Linked DNA regions of Homo sapiens: regions 2 and 3 are each linked to region 1. The links are contacts of gene promoters, found by promoter capture Hi-C in blood cells and fetal thymus (Javierre and others, 2016). All regions are on one chromosome and are shown on one strand. The core of a region is centred on a gene start or on the middle of the fragment in contact, and the rest is flanking DNA. Distances in the headings are between cores, read along the strand shown.

Region 1 (3,181 bases), core at 172-2,671:
TAAACTTAGGGGTGTATACAAATCACCCAGGATCTTGTTAAAATTCAAATTCTGACTTAGTAGGTCTGGGGAAAGGCCTGAGATTCTGCATCTTTAACAAGCTTTCAGGTGATATCAGGCTGCTGGTCCACAACCACACTTTGAGTAATGAGGTCCCGGGGCTTTTGGGCTTATCTCTCCACTAGCTGGTTACAAGGGCCTTTTTGTTCCCTTTGAGCCTGAAAAGACCACCTCAAAAGGTTTTTCTTTATATTTTTACATTAGCCACAGGTCCCCTCACTGTTCATGGTCCTATTACCTCACTAGTAAGAGCGTGGTCCAGGGCTGCCTCCGGGACTGTGGGGGAGGTTGTCCGGCTGTTTCCATGCACAGTGTAAGAAGTTTCTAGGGCTTCTGCAGTGCCACGTGGAGGCTCTGCTTCTGAACCTCAATCTGCTCCCTGAATAATAATTTCACCTCTCACCACATTCTTGTCTTACTCCAATTACAGGAGCTCTAATACAGGTCTTCACTTCTGGTCCTATACCTAGAGTGATAGTCCAGATCTGTAAACTGAGGCAGCTGGGGGACTCGGGTGATGTTCCCAGGCAGAAGAGGTGGTCAGGTGGTCCACGGAAGCCTGTTTGTTAAGGAGCAAGGCTGATTTCTTAAGAGCCAGCCCAGTAATTGACAGTGGAACAAGTCTGGAAGGACTTGCCATTTCCAAATATAAGGCATAGGATACGGAGTCCCATGGGCTTGAGTTTGAATTGTGCTTCCATCCCTTACTGTGTAACCTGGGGAATGTGCCCGGGTGTCTCTGAGATGCAGTTTTCTTATCTCGAAAATGGGAATGATATCAACACCTCCTTTGTAAATTGAGATAATGCATTTAAAGCACCTAGTAAAGTGCCTGGCACAAATGATACAAAATACTAGTTGCCATTATTTTTATAATTTCTACTATCATCTTACTGCGTACCAAATCGCTTTGACGCCCGGCATTATAGCATCCACCTTTACGTTCTCTGGAGTTAAGGTACCAGAGCAAATCCCTCAGCAAAGGTGTTCAAAGAGAGACACACACGCCCGAGCACTTTCTTCATGACAGATGCCACAAGAGATAACTGGAGGAGCTGAAGATGTTTAGTTTAGAAAACAGGTGATGGGGGACAGGTGGTGATGGCTCTTAGCGTTGCCTTGTTCAACGAGACCCTGAGAGCACGATGAGCCCGCGCGGAAGAGATGAAATGGCAGCACCCCCGCGAGCGCATATCAGAGAAACTCGCCGAGACCTAAAGCGAGTCCGCGCGAGATGGGGGTGGGAGCGCCCGCGGGGGTCGTCTCCTGCGCAGCCGCAGCGGCGGCGCCAATCACCGGGCGCATCACGTCCTCTCGCGACGGTACAGTTGTACGTTCGTGACGTCGGCGGTTGCCGTGGAGAGACCCGCTCGGTCCCGACCGAGAGCTGGCGTCAGGAGCCGCAGGGTCACAGCGTGTCTTTGAAGCTGCCTCCGCCGCCACCATGAGCGGCCGAAGTCGGGGTCGAAAGTCCTCCCGCGCCAAAAACCGGGGCAAAGGCCGCGCCAAAGCCCGAGTCCGCCCTGCTCCGGACGACGCCCCGCGCGACCCGGACCCTTCACAGTACCAGAGTCTCGGGGAAGACACCCAGGCGGCACAGGTGCAGGCTGGCGCGGGGTGGGGTGGCCTGGAAGCCGCTGCGTCCGCGCAGCTCCTCCGGCTCGGGGAGGAGGCCGCCTGCCGGCTCCCCCTGGACTGTGGCCTCGCGCTGCGGGCCCGAGCTGCGGGGGACCACGGGCAGGCCGCGGCCAGGCCCGGCCCGGGGAAGGCCGCATCTCTCTCGGAGCGCCTGGCCGCAGACACTGTCTTCGTGGGAACAGCGGGAACCGTGGGAAGGCCGAAAAATGCCCCCCGCGTTGGAAACCGGCGTGGCCCTGCCGGGAAGAAGGCCCCAGAAACCTGTAGCACCGCGGGGAGGGGGCCTCAGGTCATAGCTGGTGGGAGGCAGAAGAAAGGGGCGGCAGGGGAGAATACCTCGGTGTCAGCTGGGGAGGAAAAGAAGGAAGAGAGGGATGCAGGGTCGGGGCCCCCAGCGACGGAAGGCAGCATGGATACGCTGGAGAACGTGCAGCTGAAGCTGGAGAACATGAACGCCCAGGCGGACAGGGCCTACCTTCGGCTCTCCAGGAAGTTTGGGCAGTTGCGACTGCAGCACTTGGAGCGCAGGAACCACCTCATCCAAAATATCCCGGGCTTCTGGGGGCAAGCATTTCAGAACCATCCCCAGCTAGCATCCTTTCTGAATAGCCAAGAGAAAGAGGTACTGAGCTACTTAAACAGCTTGGAAGTGGAAGAGCTCGGCCTTGCCAGATTGGGCTACAAAATCAAGTTCTACTTCGATCGCAACCCGTATTTCCAAAATAAGGTGCTCATCAAGGAATATGGGTGTGGTCCTTCTGGCCAGGTGGTGTCTCGTTCTACTCCAATCCAGTGGCTCCCAGGGCATGATCTCCAGTCCCTAAGCCAGGGAAACCCAGAAAACAACCGTAGTTTCTTTGGGTGGTTTTCAAACCACAGCTCCATTGAGTCTGACAAGATTGTGGAGATAATCAACGAAGAATTGTGGCCCAATCCCTTGCAGTTCTACCTTTTGAGTGAAGGGGCTCGTGTAGAGAAAGGAAAGGAAAAAGAAGGCAGGCAAGGTCCAGGAAAGCAGCCAATGGAGACTACTCAGCCTGGGGTGAGCCAATCCAACTGATCCTGCACAAGTCTCCCTGCTACCTCCTGCTGGGCTGCTCCTGGTTGACTACATATTTGGCTCTCTGCCTTCTCTTCATGTTGGCCTCTGTGTACTATAGACCCTTTGGACTTTAGTTACAAGAATATGGCATTTATGATCATGTTCTTTTGCCTCCCATAGCCTCTTGCTTTTCTACGTTAGTGTCACATGTTATGTGATCGCACCCGGACTGTTCATATGTTAAGCACACATACTTTAGATGTGTGCTCCCTGTTATCTACATTGCCTGGACCTTGTTCTTGGCTCTGGCCTTTCCTACTTGTCTTTAACATGGACACTCATGAGTCATCCTCCAGGACGACCAGTGCATCCTCAAGCTCTGCTCCTTCAGGGCCAGTGACTTGCTGGGCTTCGTGTTCATGCTGGCCATGCATGTCATCT
Region 2 (3,181 bases), core at 295-2,794, 1.0 Mb after region 1:
TAAAAACCTTTTCTGCTGGGCATGATGGCTCACGCGGGTAACCCAGCATTTTGGGAGGCTGACGTGGGTGGATCACTTGAGGTCAAGAGTTTGATACCAGCCTGGCCAACACGGTGAAACCCCGTCTCTACTAAAAATACAAAAATTAGCGGGCATGGTAGTGTGTACACCTGTAGTCCCAGCTACTCAGGAGGCTGAGGCACGAGTCATTTGAACCCAGGAGGCAGAGGTTGCAGTGAGCCGAGATTGTGCCATTCAGCCTGGGTGACAGAGGCTGAACAACAAAAAAAAGGGTGAAAAAAAACAAACAAAAAAAACCCAAAACCTTTTCTGACCTAACCTTCCACTAAAATAGCTAGATATAGATCTTCAGCTGGAGAAACCCAAGGCCTGAAAGGCTTGGTGTCTTTCCTGGATTAGTAGTGTAGCAGTATAGCATATGACCCTAGAATTAAGGAGCCCCAAATTTGCATCTGGATTTTCAGATTCTGGAAGAAGAACCTGGACTCTTCTAGTCATGTGCTCTTGGACAAGTTATTCAACCTTTCTGAGCCTCAGCTTTCTCCTCTCTACAATGAGATAATTACAGTACTTTTAGAATTAAAAGATAGTTTAGGGGAGTGAGAGATCACCTCCAACCCTCCCTCCCCTTTGCTCTTATGTGGGCTCTTTGGTTGAATCTAGGAACCAAATTGACACATGGCAGATTAACAAGAGAAAAGCATACTAATTTTACTAGTTTTACATGTACATGGGGATCCGCACAAAAGAGTGAAGTGGCCAATGTAAGATGCCTTTATACTTTTTACACGAACTACAAATCAGAAGAAAGGGGATCTGGCTAGGGGCAGTAAATTTCTCGCGGAGTCATTAGGAGAAAAGTGTGTGTGTTGGGGTGTAAACTTAGTGGAAGATAACGGTTACTTCGGAAAGTATATTCAGGTCCAAAGCAGCCCCCAGTTTCGTCTCTGGTGATAGGTGCTATTTTCTCCCTCTGGTAAGGGACGGGTACTCCAGAGGAATCCTGGAGGAAGCTTTATGGCTTGCTGCATGCAGGAAGAGATAGGTCATCAAACCTTTTCTGAAACTACAATTTCTCCAATATTTTCAACTCGAAATAATCAATGTACCAATTCCATATATTTTTGGGATGGCACATCCATCAGTCCTTCAATAGAAAGTAAGACGATGCCCTTAAAACATTTAGCTTCCTGCCTGGCACAAAGAGCTGAATTAATACTGTCCACGCTCCCATAGCTATTAACAGCAAATAACAGAACCCAGCTTTAAGCCTTGGTCTCCTAATTCCTGACCTGTGTTCTTCCCATCACATCACAACCAATACTTCTTAGAATGTAGCACGCAAAATGCCCCGCCTACTCCATTGGCCTCACCCTGGCCGAGAGGTGCTTACGCAGGTGCTGAACGGCAGTCGTCAGAACTGCGCCTGCGCAAGCGGCCTTTCTCTGTTCGCGATGTGACGTAACGCGCCTGCGGACTGGGCCCAGCTTGTCCTCTATGACTTACCCAGAAGGCAACGCTTCTCTTTCTGGTCAAAATGGCTGGTAAGCAGGCCGGTAAGTAACTGGGGGTCTTCTTGGCCGGCATCGTCGCGCTTCACCGTTTATTTTTGCTGCAGCTTGCTCCGTTTTCTCTCTTCTTTGTAAGTGGCCAAGTTTGTCGCGGAAGGGAAATTGGCTGCTTCAGTCCAGTGAAAAGGATGTGCTTCCCCACTCGTTTGCTGTCCCCAGGGCGGGCTTGCCTGTATAGGGTTGGGATGTTAACCCGCTGTTTGTGAAGGTGCCCGCGGTGGCTCTGACAGCCCTGGAGTTCCAGCTGCCCGTGCTTGGAAGTCCTTCCCCTTGGCCTTAGAAAAGTTAAAGGGCACAAGAGGATAACTAGTGGATGACTTTCAACCCGAATGAGCTCAGTGCTTTCTATGACCCAAGTGCTCTATCGTGTGCATTGGCCCTATAAATTTTCTTGCCATTGCGACGAGGGAGATATTAATTTCCCTTTTACGCTGATAAGATAACTGAGGCAAAGTGACCCAAGGAAGTAGAATTGGAAATATCATTGCACCCCTCGCGCTTCTCAAACTGCGAATCAGAGACAGTTGAGCAAGGGATACGAGCGACGCTTCAGGTTGACCTTGGATTATCTAGAGCGTCAGCTTGATCAGTAGGTTTGGAGAAATTTGAATTTATTGTAGGTTCTTTTTTTCTTTTTTCTTTCTTTTTTTTTTTTTTTGCTAATCTCTGCCCTCTGGCGGTACAAGTTGGAGTAGCCGTTTTGTTTGTTTGTTTGTTTTGTCTTTGAGACGGAGTCTTGCTTTGTCGCCCAGGCTGGAGTGCAATGGCACAATCTCGTCTCACTGCAATGCAACCAAGTTGGAGTAGCTTAAAAAATGTTGATCCTTTTCTCCCCGCCCCCAGCAATTGTGAAGCTGTTAGGAAACATCAGGTTGCCAGAAACATCCGTTAACCTAATTGACATTGAGCTTTTTGGGGGTGGGGGAGACTTTTTAAATAATTATTTTATTAATTTGGCAGATATTGAAGGAGTCTTACTAAATTCAAGACACTGCTTCTGTGCGTGTTTGGGAACTACATAGACCAGATCTCAACTCCCATTAGCTAACTCTGACCTTGGGTGGGATCACTTCTGTAAGCCAGCTTCCCCTTCTGTAGTAACAGACATGTAAATAAATCAGCTAATGTTGGTAAAGCAAATAGGAAAGTGTTTGGTGCACAATAAGTGCTTAGTGAATATTATTATAGTCACTGATAGGTGGTTGAATATAATCTGTCTTCCACAAGTATGTTTGTAGATTGTTGACTGATACTTGTTTTTCTAGCAGCAGTTTTATACATGACTCTTAATTTCCAAGGAGATTTGCTAAAGCCACGTAATCTGTAGTGCACTGAGTTTGCAAGCAAGGAGAGTTGAGTGAAAGGAGAGTTTGCTTTCCTTCCTTGGTAAGGGCTAACCCTAGACAAAATTTTAAAAGAGAATACAAACCTGTTCTACCTCTCCTTTTGTAAAATGTCTCTCCTAAAATGTCAGATACGGTCCTGCTGTACTTGGACCCTGCTGGGTTACTTCATCAGGCTCAGCCCTGTTCCCCAAACAGTTTTAAAATTACCTATTTCTCATCCTTTTTCAATATCCATTCCCTTGG
Region 3 (3,181 bases), core at 276-2,775, 1.0 Mb after region 1:
AGCAGTATCAGGGGACATTTTCTAATGGGAATTTATGTGGTCAAGAGGGAAAGAACAGGGAATGCTAGCAAGTATCCATAAGCAATATAATACAGGTGGCCACAAGTATGCCCCAATGATATGACGGTGAACTGGAGTTCCAAAGCCAATAAGGGAAATTAAGTAAAAACCATTATTAACAAATCAATCAGTCAATCAATCAGTCTGTCCATTTCCCTGTCCTTGCCTGTCTCCTTAGTTCTAAATCGAGGAGAAATGAAGCATAGACAAATTGATGATCACTTAAGTACACAAATCCGCAGAAAGGCAACGTCTTCTAGGTAAGTAACAATTTTTGTTGGACAAGTGCTAACAAAGGCTGATTCTACTGTTTAATGGCAGGTGCCTCTTAAGGAGAGGTGGGCTTCTTTGAATGTGAATTAATAGATTCTGGTGTTTTCTAAATCTAAAGCTTGAGTTTTTTAAACTAAAGGCATTCAATATTTCCAAGTTTACCAACCCCTGAATGCAGAGTAAATATGAGGGTATCTTATAGGTAATTATTATACTCTGAGCTTGAGACAAAAGTTTTCCTTGCCCTACTTTGCTAACAAACTTCTAAGACATATGCGTAAGCATTTATTTATAAAAATACTATTTATTTTTTAATAGAGATGGGGTCTTGCTATGTTAGCCAGGTTGGTCTTGGACTCTTGGCCTCAAGCAATCCTCCCACCTTGGCTTCCCAAAGTGCTAGGATTACCGGCGTAAGCCATTGCACCCAGCCTACTTATTCTAAAATGTGGGAAAATAAGTTTTTGGTTTTCTTTTGAGACAGGGTCTCATTCTGTCGAGTGAGTAGGGTGGAGGCTGGAGTATGGTGGCGTGATTCAGCTCACTGCAACCTCTGCCTCCTAGGCTCAGGTGATCGTCTTACTTCAGCCTCCAGGTGCATGCCACCACGCCCAGCTAATTTTTGTTTTGTTTTGTTTTGTTTTGTTTTGTTTTGTTTGTTTGTAGAGATAGGGTTACACCATGTTGTCCAGGCTGGAAATGAGCTTTTTCAAATAGGAAAATGATTAGGTAGTATCTAACTTTATTTTTAATGATGGTGATAAAGACAGGAGATATTTAAATACTATGGTTTAACAGGGAATTGACCTAAGGGCCATCTAACAAAAGAACTACTTGACAAATCCAAACTTGTCTCAGACTTCAGTGCAAGGTATCTAATCCTCTGTAATTTTAAATTCTTGCTGGATCTCTGAAGCATGTGACAGTACCCAAGTACTGTTTCTCACATACTGGTTATATGACATCCCAAAAGAATCCTATCTCCTCGTTCTCTTAGACAACTAGTCTTTGCAAAACAAACTTTAAGACATATCTTTTAAGTTTTACTGAAAGAATTGCACTGAACAATTGTCCAACTAAAATCTTATAAAATAAATAATAAGGCACTGGAGTTAATCATTACAAAAGAACATAGGATACATTTTCATTTAAGAAGTCGTTACTTTCCGTCTTTATGGAGGAATATAGAGCTATCATTGTAATGCCCCACTTAAGTCACAAATCATTACAAAAAATGAGTAAGATTTAGTAAGTACGAATTCTATTAATGGTGCTTATGATTTTATATAAAGTGAAACTTGTTATTAATTAGTTCTTCATTATGTGATTTCTGTCTCTTTATGAAATTAGTGGAAGAAATAAAATTGTTAACATTTTTGGATGAGACTACAGTCTGAAGTTCAGATTATGGTTCTTCTATTATTTTGGACAAGCTGTTAAAATTCGTATTCATTTCTTATACTTTCACTGCTGCAATTTATTGACTGCCTTGACAGAATATGATGTAAAAGGAAATTTCAGAAGATTGTGACTTTTTATATCAGAAAAGAGGAAGAGAAACCTATTTTGAAAGGACCTAGAATAATATTAAAAATGAAAGGCTGAAACAAATGGCTCATTCTTGCTTCTCATTATTTAAAACAAAATACCATAATTATTTTTCTAATTTCCAGAGAAACTCCCTCACTAATTTCATTATTTCAAGCCCACACCTAAGATGAAGTTAAACTGAAGTTAACATCAAACAGGTATGTATGTTATCTAATGTCCATTTTTCCAGTGCTTTTATCCTTCTCAATTACAGAGCATACTACATCCTCGTTCAATAATAAATATAAATTAGAAGACAGTAGCATTCAATGAAATCACATCGTAATAACCACTAATGTTTATTAAGCACTTAATACTTGCCATGCACTGAGCTAAACAGATTATCTAAAAAGATGAATTTAATCCTCATGACAAATAATCCCGACAGATTAATGTATTGATATTTTCATTTTACATACAGATAAGGAAACTGAGGCCTAGCAAAATTATGTGGCCACACAGCTATTAAGTGATAAAATCAGGCAACATAATGAAGTATTTGAAAGTAACCATAGTTAGGGACATGATTCATTTCTCTCCAAAGCTAGAAATATGTCTGGTCAGGTACTGTGGAAAGGTCTGGTCTTCACCTGCTGCACAGCTTTAGCAGATTTTATAGTAATAGTGGCAAGATCCCTCAATCATTAAAGAGTAAGCAATTGTTACTTAAGCTTTATACCTTTAGGTAGATTCTTTCAAATGGATAAACACTTACATAACAAGAACCAAGAGTCAAATGAATCCCAGAGGTAAGGAACAAGTGTGATGTGGGAGGATATTAGTTTTATGAGGATTTGAAAAACTGCAGTTATTCCTAAGGGAGGCACCACCGGCACTTGTGTGTGTGTATGCAAACGACTGTGTAGAAGACAATTCCCTTTATGTTGTACAGCGCTGTCACATATGTCACAATACATTTAGTATCCGTTAACTGCTCCCCCTCCCAAATACTAGAAGTTCTCTCAATCCTTGTGACTACCCAATATATATATCCCTACACATGTTCTGCTGACCCTGACAGAGAACCTTGATTGTTGGATAAAAATACTGGGAGAGAAGTAACTGACATGAATTGTACATTGTGCTCCAGGGACTCTGCTAAATGCATTCACACACATTCATTTAATTTTCATAACCCTATATAAGTAGATATTTCATCCCCATTTTACGAGTGTGGCCCCTGAGGCTCAGAGCAAGGTTATGCAACTTAATTAAGGACACACAGCCAGTTTTGAAACCAAAAGTGTGGCTCAAAAAC

Evidence for each region. Contacts are between HindIII fragments. The CHiCAGO score rates a contact against its expected background, and 5 or more counts as called.
Region 2: a contact is called between the fragment with the promoter of UQCRB here and the fragment with the promoter of TSPYL5 in region 1, in 4 of 17 cell types (fetal thymus, naive B cells, total CD4 T cells and 1 more). The highest score is 10.1, in fetal thymus.
Region 3: a fragment that was not itself captured here is called in contact with the fragment with the promoter of TSPYL5 in region 1 in 2 of 17 cell types (naive B cells and total B cells); the score reaches 7.2 in naive B cells.

What each region holds. Positions count from the first base shown.
Region 1 is chr8:97,276,168-97,279,348 of GRCh38, reverse strand. TSPYL5 (TSPY like 5) reads left to right here and starts at 1,421. Exons shown (of 1, transcript NM_033512.3): 1 at 1,421-3,181. The coding sequence starts at 1,505. The coding sequence ends at 2,758. The region is part of intron 2 of LOC101927066 (a long non-coding RNA gene); the gene reads left to right. RefSeq lists an enhancer at 1,883-2,384. The HindIII fragment of the contact is 4,352 bases long and covers 104-3,181 here.
Region 2 is chr8:96,233,908-96,237,088 of GRCh38, reverse strand. It overlaps UQCRB (ubiquinol-cytochrome c reductase binding protein), which reads left to right and starts at 1,544. Exons shown (of 4, transcript NM_006294.5): 1 at 1,544-1,577. The coding sequence starts at 1,559. It overlaps UQCRB-AS1 (UQCRB antisense RNA 1), which reads right to left and starts at 1,796. Exons shown (of 2, transcript NR_183275.1): 1 at 1,528-1,796. RefSeq lists an enhancer at 1,538-1,817. The HindIII fragment of the contact is 3,599 bases long and covers 1,037-3,181 here.
Region 3 is chr8:96,263,395-96,266,575 of GRCh38, reverse strand. The region is part of intron 1 of PTDSS1 (phosphatidylserine synthase 1); the gene reads right to left. LOC105375652 (a long non-coding RNA gene) reads left to right here. Exons shown (of 3, transcript XR_928431.3): 2 at 239-320; 3 at 1,684-1,770. Among named protein-coding and RNA genes, the nearest start is that of PTDSS1, 3.1 kb to the right of the region's middle. The HindIII fragment of the contact is 2,143 bases long and covers 454-2,596 here.